Regions from separate parts of the Homo sapiens genome. Here region 1 is linked to region 2. The links are contacts of gene promoters, found by promoter capture Hi-C in human tissues and cell types (Jung and others, 2019). All regions are on one chromosome and are shown on one strand. Each heading gives the region's core, a stretch centred on a gene start or on the middle of the fragment in contact. The rest is flanking DNA. Distances are from core to core; before and after follow the strand shown.

Evidence for each region. The method cuts DNA at HindIII sites, captures the fragments that hold promoters and counts their contacts. A contact is called where the count stands out against the background at its distance.
Region 1: a contact is called between a fragment that was not itself captured here and the fragment with the promoter of DIP2B in region 2, in 1 of the 25 tissues and cell types used here (bladder).

What each region holds. Positions count from the first base shown.
Region 1 is chr12:48,927,503-48,933,444 of GRCh38, forward strand. It overlaps a transcript of FKBP11 not described here. Among named protein-coding and RNA genes, the nearest start is that of FKBP11, 5.0 kb to the left of the region's middle. The HindIII fragment of the contact is 4,385 bases long and covers 1-4,009 here.
Region 2 is chr12:50,502,088-50,507,497 of GRCh38, forward strand. DIP2B (disco interacting protein 2 homolog B) reads left to right here and starts at 2,898. Exons shown (of 38, transcript NM_173602.3): 1 at 2,898-3,153. The coding sequence starts at 3,054. RefSeq lists a silencer at 3,201-3,310. The HindIII fragment of the contact is 9,488 bases long and covers 1-5,410 here.

The sequences.
Region 1 (5,942 bases), core at 567-3,066, 1.6 Mb before region 2:
TATCAAGATATTTTTTAAGTTAAACAAAAAAACCACAAAACTCCAAGTCTCCCTTAAAGCTGGATATGGCCAGTTGACTAAGTTCTGGCCAAGAGAACATAAACAGAAGTGTTGGAAGTATTGTCCTGGACTTCCAAGAAGGCCCTTTAAAGAGTTAACTAGAAAGCGTCCTTCTGTGCTGCTCTCTCTCCCCCTAATCATCTTTCCTTCCTTCTGTCTGCTATCTGGAATGCAGATGAGATGAATTAAGCTCTAGAAGCCATATTAGACCATGAGATGACCATGAGGATGGAAGCTGCACGCTAGGATGGTGAAGCAAAAAGAAGCATAAGTCCTTGTTAATTGCAGAGCCACCATGCCAGCTCTGGATTGCCTACCACCAGACACTTTTATTTTTCAGTTCTATCTGAAGCCCCATTCTTTGTGGGGGAAAAAAAAAAGACTAGTCAAGTGCAGTAGTGAGAAGGGGGAAAGAGTAGTTCAATCTGTAACTGGCCGTGAACAATTGAGATGCCTATCTTCAGACCAGCTGCCAGATACCTTTTTTTTTTTTTTTTTTTTTTGAGATGGGGGTCTCTGTCATCCAGGCTGGAGTATAGTTGTGTAATCTTGGCTCACTGCAACCTCTGCCTCCTGGGCTCAAGTGATTTTCCTGCCTCAGCCTCCCAAGTAGCTGGGACCACAGAGGCATGCCACCACACCCGGCTAATTTTTAAATTTTTTGTAGAGATGGGGTTTCGCCATATTGCCCAGACTGGTCTCGAACTCCTGGAGTCAAGTGATCTGCCCCCTTCGGCTTCTTAAAGTGCTGGGATTACAGGCATCAGTCACCACGCCCAGCTCACCTTTTTTTTTTTCTTTTGACCGAGTCTCGCTCTGTTGCCTAGGCTGGAGTGCAGTGGTATGATCTCGGCTCACTGCAACCTCCGCCTCCTGAGTTCAAGCGAGCATATCTGGCTAATTTTTGTGTATTTATTATTTGTCTATTTATTTGAGACAAAGTCTCACTCTGTCTTGCCCAGGCTGGAGTGTAATGCTGTGATCTTGGCTCACTGCAGCCTCCACCTCCCAGGTTCAGGCAATTCTCCTGTTTCAGCCTCCAGAGTAGCTGGGACTACAGGTGTGTGCCACCACACCAGGCTAATTTTGTATTTTTAGTAAAGATGGGGTTTCACCATGTCGGCCAGGCCGGTGTTGAACTCCTGACCTCAAGTGATCTGCCTGCCTCAGCCTCCCAAAGTGCTGGGATCACAGGTGTAAGCCACCATGCACGGCCCCCAGACACCTTTTAACTGAGGCAGAAATAAACTTCTATCTTTTTTTTTTTTTTTTTTTTTTGAGACAGAGTCTGACTCTGTTGCCCAGGCTGTAGTGCAGTGGTGCAATCTCGGCTCACTGCAAGCTCCGCCTCCCGGGTTCACGCCATTCTCCTGCCTCAGCCTCCCAAGTAGCTGGGACTACAGGCGCCCGCCATCACGCCCAGCTAACTTTTTGTATTTTTTTTTTTTAGTGGAGACGGGGTTTCACTGTTAGCCAGGATGGTCTCGATCTCCTGACCTCAAGATCCACCTGCCTCGGCCTCCCAAAGTGCTGGGATTACAGGCGTGAGCCACCGCGCCCGGCCTTTAAACTTCTATCTTGTTTAAGAAAAGAAAAAAAAAAGTCTTGGTGTGGTGGCTCACACCTGTAATCCCAACATTTTTGGGAGGCTGAGGCAGGAGGATTGCTTGAGGCCAGGAGTTCAAGACCAGCCTGGGCAACATGGCAAGACCCTATCTCTACAAATAATTTAACGATTAGCTAGGTATGGTGGTGTGCACCTGTGGTCTTAGCTACTCAGGAGGCTAAGGTGGGAGGATCACTTGCGTCCAGGAGGTCAAGGCTGCAGTAAGCCATGATCACGCCACTGCACTCCAGCCTAGGTGACAGAGACCTTGTCTCAAAAAATAATAAGCCCCTGATCCCTAGCCTCTCCCTACTTTGGACCACTGTGTACACTGCTGCTATCTACAGTTTCAGTCCCATCATCTGCCCACTAAAAAGCCTACCATGGCTTCACATTGCCCACGTGAATAAAATTCCAACTCCTTGACATGACAACTGAAAGCTTGTCATCCAGCCCTAATCTGCTTTTCCAAACTTGGCTTTTATTCCATTAAACTGAATCCCTCTTAGAGACAGGAACCTCATGTTTCTCATTTCTAAATCTTCATTGCTAGTATAGTGTCTGACACATCAATGCTCAGTAAATGTTTGTGAATTGAGCCAAATTCCCTTCCTGCTCATGGACTGTGGTCTGGCATCAGACAAACCTACATCTTCTGTTTCCATCTCTGTGCCTGAACTCATACACTTCTTTTACCTGTCAAGCTCCCTCCAGGCTAAGCTCAAATATCATTTCCTCTGTGAAGTCCTGATTCTCTTAGCTAGGATCTCCAGGCATACACTTGTGGACATTATTATATTTTTCCTTTTGTTGCAGTTATTTGTGTATGCCCCATTCCTCCCTTCCTATCTCCCCCAAAGAGCCAGCTAACTGATGGCAAGGTCAAGGTTGCAATCATGTCTGGAGCTAAGTACTAGCTACACGATAGCCTCCAAATAATAGATTCTAGACAGTATGTTTTACTTTGAAGAAATTATACTATGAAATACTGAGAAGCCATTAAAAGGAGATCTAATTACACTAATATAGAAAATCTCTAAGACAAATGTATATATACCCTAAGTAAAAAAGCAAGTAGCAGAATAACAGATGTGATATGAGCCCATTTATATTTTAACCCCTCCACAAACATGTGTCAGCACATACATTTAAAAAAGGAACTAGAAGGATGCACATCAAATAGCTGAGGATGGTTACGTTTGGGCATGGGAGAGAGAAGAGTAAGGGCAATGTCCCACATGTTGCTCTGTATATTTTTGTATTGTTTGGATCTTTTACAATAGAAATTACTTTGGTTATAATTTTTTTCCTGCTCAGATGTTACTTCTCAGGTTATAAAAATAATTTTTAATATTAAATATTACACGAATAAACAAGATATATAGCAATACAAGGGAATGAGTGGGAGGTGTTAAATGAGTTGTGCTAACAGAGCTAAAGGAGCCAACGTGGGGAAAAACTATAAAAGTCCTTGTAGTTGCAGAGGGCACAGGCAGCTTTGTGGAGGAGGTGAAACTTGAGCTAGATCTTGGAGTGGGATTTTTAAACAAGTGAGAAAGGAGGTGAAGGCAGAGGGCCAGATGTTTGGGAAAAATGAATGGACTGATTTGGCTAAAGTAAGGGATTTGGCCAGAGACTAGAGAGAGGTGGCTGGAGAGGGAATTAAGGGCTAGTTGTAGGCCGGGTGCAGTGGCTCACGCCTGTAATCCCAGCACTTTGGGAGGCCGAGGCGGGCGGATCACGAGGTCAGGATATCGAGACCCATCCTGGCTAACACGGTGAAACCCCGTCTCTACTAAAATTACAAAAAATTAGCCAGGCGTGGTGGCGGGTACCTGTAGTCCCAGCTACTCGGGAGGCTGAGGCAGGAGAATGGCGTGAACCCAGGAGGCGGAGCTTGCAGTGAGCCGAGATCGCGCCACTGCACTCCAGCCTGGGCGACAGAGCGAGACTCCAGCTTAAAAAAAAAAAAAAAAAAAAAAAAAAAAAAGGCTAGTTGTGAAGAACCTTGAATGTCAGACTAAGGCAGTGGGAACACATTGCAAGTTTCTAAGCAAAAGGATGACACAGCATACTGCACTGATGTATCAGCAGACTCGAACAGTGTGGTGAAGGTGGAAGGCTATTGTCTTATCCAGGTCTGAGGCTCTGTTCAGGAACCTGAAGGGGAAGAGGAGTGGAGTAGGAGAAGGTGGTAGTAGAAATGGAAAGGGCAAAACTATTAAACACAATATCCACCCACAGGCAGCACAAGCCCATCTGCACCCTGGAGGGACCAGAGAAGGAGCTTTTTCCTTGGATCAAGTTAGAAGAAATCCAAACAACAGAGAAAGGTGAGATGATTCTTGGAAAGATAGGAGAGTTGGCCCACCCCTGGCTGGAGATACAACTTAATCACAGAACCATTGCTAGAAAAGCCTCCACACTCAAAGGTGTCTCTGTCAGTGTGTAGGAGAAACCCTACCACAGTACCTGGGCTTCCAAGACTCATGGGGCACCCACCATGCCCAGCTTGATTAAAGACAATGGTGTTTATTAATTCATCCATTTGTTCATCAAGGTTGCATGACTATTATGTGCCAAAGAATAAGCAGAACACTGCTCTTTAAATGTTCTTAAGTGTTTATTTATAACAGGTTGTTAATAAAGTAAAAGCCTGAGTTGGCATATATAAATTTGGGTTTAAAATTTGATTTTGGTTGAGACAGGGTCTTGCTGTGTCACCAGTGCGGTGGCGCAAACACAGCTCACTGCAGCCTCAATCTCTCAGGCTCAAGCAATCCTCCTGCCTCAGCCTCCTGAGTAGCTGGGACCACAGGCACGTGCCACCATGCCCAACTAATTAAAAACATTTTTTTTTGGCCGGGCACAATGGCTCATGCCTGTAAATCCAGCACTTTGGGAGGCTGGGGTGGGAGGACTGCTTGAGCCCAGGAGTTTGAAACCAGCTTGGGCAACATAGTGAAATCCCATCTCTATTTTTTTTAAATAAAAGTAAAAATATATATATATATATAATATAAACATATAATTGTATATATATCATATAAACATATATTTATATATATATATATATATATATATATATATATATTTTTTTTTTTTTTTTTTTTTTTTTTTTTCTTATAGAGATGGGGCCTCACCATGTTGCCCAGGTTGATCTCAAACTCCTGGGCTCAAGCTATCCTCCCACCTAAGCCTCCCAAAGTGTTGAGGTTATAGAATTGAGCCACCATGCCTGGCCTGGTGTTGTATTTTCAAGGGTATACATACCCCCAGCTGACTAGATGTTTTCTTTCAGGTATGTTTATGCATATATTCATCCAAGAATGAAGCACTTACTTACTTCCTCCACTCTTCCCCTATGGCTGTTCTAATCAAAGAGGTATCATCCCATAAATGCAAGATTTGGCAAAGACAAGAACAGATTCCCCATCTCCTATCTATAACCTAAGGCCAAGAGTGCCCTTTATTACTATATTCAGAACTCAGAAAGAATTCCTGTGGGTTAGAGCCCCAAGCTAAGCCCTCCAAGCCTTAAAAGTCCTTCTATTCAATTCTGTGCTGGGAGGACCCTGAACGATATATGGGATGGAGGGGTGAAGGTGGAAGTGGGGGGAAGCAGGTGCCAGGCGGACAAGCCCATTCTCAAACCTGCTGCCTCGCCTGGATTGACTGCCAGACAGCTCTCAATATGCCTGGTTTGTGAGGAAGGGTGAGGGAAGGAAGGGTACATGGGTAGAACTGGTCAGCCCTCTGCATAGATAGCCAGGGTTTTGGATTGAGTATCCTCTCTTCTACACCATGTTCAGCTCAGAAGCCGGAAGTGCTCCTCAACTAGAGGCCAGATACTCTCTTCTGCAACTCACAGCCAACATGACACACACAAACAGACACTCATCTTCAAGCCTTGATGGTGAATGGTCTCAACCCAACTTCCTCACATCTACACCTCCAACCACTGCCTTCGGTGGCTTTGCTCCCTTTACCTGACTAAATGATTCCATTTCCTCTGTCCTAACCCTCTTCCCTTTTCTCAGGAATTCAGAGTCATTCTTACCCATACCAGCAATCAGGGTCAGGAAACCCAATCAGAAAGAAAAACTTGAAGAGGAAGGCGGGCATCCGGATCCTATCACTCCCCAGTGACCAGCAAGACACTCTCTCTCCAGGTACTGGGTTGGAAAGTGAGAGAACTGAATTCTGGCTCTCCTACCTTCACACTCTTCAGAACTGGAAAAGAAGCTTTTCTGCCAGGCACGGTGGCTCATGCCTG
Region 2 (5,410 bases), core at 1,648-4,147:
TTGTCACTTGCCCCGCAATGTGAGCCATTCAGCCTGAAATGAAAGATTATTAGACAATAGCCTGAGTTCACACGAAGAAATAAACAGCACTGGTAAAGGTGCTGGTGCGGTGGCTCACGCCTGTAATCCCAGAAGTTTGGGAGGCTGAGGCCAGTGGATCACTTGAGGTCAGGAGTTCGAGACCAGCCTGGCCAACATGGTGAAACCACATTTCTACTAAAAATACTAAAAATACAAAAATTAGCCGGGCATGGTGGCCGGTGCCTGTAATCACAGCTACTTGGGAGGCTGAGGCAGGAAAACCGCTTGAACCCGGGAGGCAGAGGTTGTAGTAAGCTGAAATTGCGCCACTGCACTCTAGCCTGGGTGACAGAGCGAGACTCTGTCTAAAAAAAAAAAAAACGGTGACACAGTATAAACATAGTATATTTTTGTTTGTTAATTTTTAAAAGTTTTTCTCCAAAAGCATGAGCCACCACACCTGGCCTCGGAGAAAAATTTAATGTTAAACTTTTAAAATAGTCACAGAAAGAATAGCAGTATAATCTGTACCTTCCAAACCAGAAGAACAAAGAAGTACTATCTAACACTTTACTAATTCAACAATAGGAGAAAAAGGGGGGGAAGAAAGCAAAGACAGAGATTGATAAACAGAAAACATTTAACAAGAATGAAGAAATAAGTCCTAATATATCAGTAATTATATTAAATGAACTTAAATGGATTTAATTAATTTGTTACAACCAGAGTCACAGACAAAAGTTGAAAATAAAAGACTAAAAAAAGTCAGCAAGTAGTAATTAAAAAGGCTGGTACAACAATAATATCTAGACAAAAAGATTAAGGTAAAGAATAAACAATTAGAAATAAAGAGAATATAAGGAATAATCTAGCAAAAAGGTAGAATAATTTGGTGGAAGAATGCAGTAAAGGCTGGATGAGGTGGCTTATGCCTGTAATCCCAGCACTTTGAGAGGCTGAGGTAGGAGGATCTCTCAAGTTTGTTCTAAGCTTCTATAATTTTAAATAAATGTTTTACTTTAGAATGGTTTTAAATTTACTGAAAAGTTGCAAAGATAGTACAGATAATTCCTGTGTATGCTTCATCCAGTTTTTCCTTTTTTTTTTTTTTTTTTTTTGAGACGGAGTTTCGCTCTTGTTGCCCAGGCTGGAATGCAGTGGTGCAATCTGGGCTTACCGCAACCTCCACTTCCCGGGTTCAAGCGATTCTCCTGTCTCAGCCTCCCGAGTAGCTGGGATTACAGGCACATGCCACCATGCCCAGCTAATTTTTGTATTTTTAGTAGACGCGGGGTTTCACCATACTGGTCAGGCTGATCTCCAACTCCTGACCTCAGGTGATCTGCCTGCCTCGGCCTCCCAAAGTGCTGGGATTACAGATGTGAGCGACCACGCCCGGCCTTGACTTTTTTTTTTTTTTTTGAAACAGTTTCACTGCGTTGCCCAGGCTGGAGCGCAGCCGCCATGTTCTCAGCTCACTGTAACCTTGGCCTCCCGGGTTCAAGCGACGTTCCTACCTCAGCTCCCCCAGGTAGCTGGGATTACAGGCATGTGCCACTACTCCCGGCTAATTTTTGTGTTTTTAGTAGAGACGGGGTTTCGCCATGTTGGCCAGGCTGGTCTCGAACTCTTGACCTCAGGTGATCCGCCCACCTTGGCCTCCCAAAGTGCTGGGATCATAGGTGTGAGCCACTGCACCTAGCCTTGGACCCTCTTCATATTAAATTAAAATTAATGTTTTTGGAACACCTATTAGGCCACAGAGTGAGGAGGATGAGTTAAAGTAAGTTCCCTCCTTGTAAGTAGTTAGAAGTATAGAAAGAAAGAAGTGGACCTGCTCTCTATTGTCTTTTTCTTTTCTTTAGACGGAGTGTTTGCTCTCTTGCCCGGGCTGGAGTGCAATGACGCGATCTCAGCTTACTGTAACCTCTGCCTCCTGGGTTCAAGTGATTCTCCTGCCTCAGCCTCTTGAGTAGCTAGGAGTACAGGCATCCGCCACCACGCCCGGCTAATTTTTGTATTTTTATTGGAGACGGGGTTTCACCATGTTGGCCAGGCTGGCCTAGTACTCTTTTTTTTTTTTTTTTGAGTCGGAGTCTCGCGCTCACGCTCAGGCTGGAGTGCAGTGGCGTGATCTTGGCTCACTGCAAGCTCCGCCTCCCGGGTTCACGCCATTCTCCTGCCTCAGCCTCCCGAGTAGCTGGGACTACAGGCGCCCGCCACCACGCCCGGCTAATTTTTTGTACTTTTAGTAGAGACGGGGTTTCACCGTGTCAGCCAGGATGGTCTCGATCTCCTGACTTCGTGATCCACCCGTCTCGGCCTCCCAAAGTGCTGGGATTACAGGCGTGAGCCACCGCGCCCGGTCGGCTAGCCTGGTACTCTTAACCTCAGGTGATCCACCAGCCTCAGCCTCCCAAAGTGCTAGGATTACAGGCGAGAGCCACCGCGCCTGTCTTTTTAAAAGCTAAAACTGAAACGGAAACAGAGCTCCTGGCAGATAGGACCAGGAGCCACAGCGAAGGAGGTGGCCTGTGATTAGGTTTTTATAAATGGGCAGGTATTAATCAGGGAAAATGGAGTAAAGGACACGATAGACATACATTGCTAAGTCTAGTATTGGAAAAAGTAAGGCCTGGGACCCCTAAAAACTTGCTCGAGAGTGAAAGGTAAATGCTATGTGTCCACACTACTGTGGTAAAGCCGACAGTCCATACCATGAGCCCATTTCGCGCAGGGAAATTCGAGTGGTGGGCTTGGGCCCGTCGTTCTGGTAGCTTCCCAGTAGAGGGCGCCGTAAGCATATGCGTCTTCAGCCTGACTGGGCTGGAGAGGCGGTGCGTCCTCCTGGCCGGGGGGCGGGGGCCGTCGCGCTCACGTGACCTTTGCTCATGGCGGCGGCGGCGGCGGCGGCGGTGCTGGTGGTGCTCGGCGGCCGGAGCCGGATCCTGTAGCCGGGTGTGGGCCCGTGTCTGTCCGTCCCTCCTTCGGCCCCCTCTCTTGTCTTCCGGAGTGTGGCTGGCGGAGCTGGGATGGCGGAACGAGGCCTGGAGCCGTCGCCGGCCGCGGTGGCGGCGCTGCCGCCTGAAGTGCGGGCGCAGCTGGCGGAGCTGGAGCTGGAGCTCTCGGAGGGTAGGAGCCGGGCCGGGGAGAGGGCGCCCGGGGCCCTGCGGATCGCGGCGACTTGGGAGACAGGTCCCCGCCGCGCGCTCTGGCGGCCGTGCGGCGAGGGGGACGAGGGTGTAGAGAACCTGGCCTGGCGCTCCACGACCGTTTTCCCTCCTCTCCCACCCCATTAAGTGGTTTCCTGTGGCTTTCATTGTTTTCCCATGGAGGGGACTAAGTAAGGGCTTGTGGAAAGGTCCTCCCGGGCCCACACTGCTTCTGCGCTTCCTGCCCCCCAAAACCCGAGACAAAGCTGCGCCCTCCCGCTTCTGCCCAGGCGTCTGGCCCAGGTGGGGTGAGGGGTAGGGCTGCGAGGAGGGTGGCTGACAGCTTTCTCCTTTCCTCTCCCCTTTTCGTGGAGGGCTCCACGCCTTGTTCCAGCCCCCCCTTCCCCCTTTCAAAAAGAGACACATGGGAAATCCGCAGCATCATTTCTTCTCTTTCCTTTAACAATGCGCGATGCCTCCCCAGTGACAGGAGTGAGACACAAGCGGGTGAGCCATTTAGGGTCCTAGGAAGATAAGAAGCAATGGCATTAACCCAGAGAGACACACGGTGCTGCTTTTAGACCACCTTTGTCATAAGAAGTTTTTTTTTTTCCTGGTGCCTGTTATTCGGGCCGAATTTTCCGCATCTGGTCACCTTTTGGAGTCTTTGATGAAGGAAGGAGAGGAGGCTACCGTTTACTTGCAAATCCTGGCTGGCATTCTTTCTTTTGACAATGGATTGGGACAGGGAGGGTTCGATTTATTTTCAGAATTAAAAAAAAAAAATGGGATAAATCAAGCCACTGTTATTAGAGAACTCCTTGTACAACAATGAGAGAAACACAGTGCTCCGTTGTGGGCATGTGATCAGGCTTCTGGGGCAGTTGTGATCAGTTCTGTGTAAAGTTCCTGTTTTTATCACTGGCTGCCCCTGAGACAAAAGCAGCATTTTCTCCAAGCTTGATACCAGTACTTTGATTGTGTCTCCAGAGTTGCATATTCTTACTGAGTTCCTTGTGGAAGGCCCTCTTCACTAGCATTTTTCAAGTGGATCAAAAACTCTTGATTGGAAAAGAAGAATGTGACCAACTCCCAGGAGCTTATTAAACATTACTTATTGTTTACTTATTAAGGCATTATGGTTCCCTCCCCTCTGAGAATCCTTTACAATGAAAAACCAAAAATAGAGTTGAATGTTATAAATCCTGTTGGGCACTGAAGGAAATAATTATTTTTAATAACCCTTTTAATAACCCAATGTGTAGGAAAGTGCTGTTTTTACCTGTACTTAACTATCAACATGTTATTTTTCAATTAATCCAATTTTCAAGTTATTCTTCGGCCAGTCCCGGGAATCACTGGTATTAGATTAGTTTGTTTCTGTGAAGTGTTTAAGAAGATAGGAATCCTCTGGGTTTGTCTGCCCAGTTATACCTTAAGTTCCCCCCGCTTCGAAAATCGAGGAGCTTTTTGCATTACCATCAATTCTGTCTCTCAAGATAACTCATTCTTCTCCTAGACTAAAGCATTGACATTAAATCTGTGTTGACTTGCATTAAAATCTGACTTTTAAAACTGCTATTTGAAAGTAACAAATCATCTAGCTTTGATTAGAGAGAGGTTTGCCTGGATGCTTGCGTCAGAGGGAGATTAAAAATAGGAGTTGATTGCTTTCACACGGAGAGGGAAATCCTGGAAGCTCCTTATTCTGGGTATATCTGCTTCCAGCTGATTGTTGTTTACATCTCTGGGTGTTTCTAGACATCTCTAGAATGTCTAGAAACATTCTGAGGAACTATTTCTAGGACCCACACTGATTAGCTCACCTCTCTCTCCTTCAGAAAGGTGTGAAACTTCTACAAATTGTGAATGCCAAGGCTTAAACATTTTAAGGACAAGTGCATGGTTTGCTTTCCAATGAAGGATTATTTTGGTTGGCATCTGACTTGGTTTGAATTTGTTTCTTATAGATATACTACACTTCTTGTATTTCATTTGTTTTAGCAATGGATGACTGGAAAAAATACAATTGAAAAACTTGGGCCTGCAGTGTCAGCATATTGGTCATCTTTCTTGCTTAAAGTACAGGGGATGGTTGGCTGGAGAAGTGGATAGACATTAGGAATTCAAGTGAAGTTAAAATAATCCAAAAGTCCCCATATCTGTGTAGTATGGTGTTATTTGTGATGCCTGTAGCATATTTGGAGCTAAGGTTTGTTCGTTTTGCATTTTCTCTA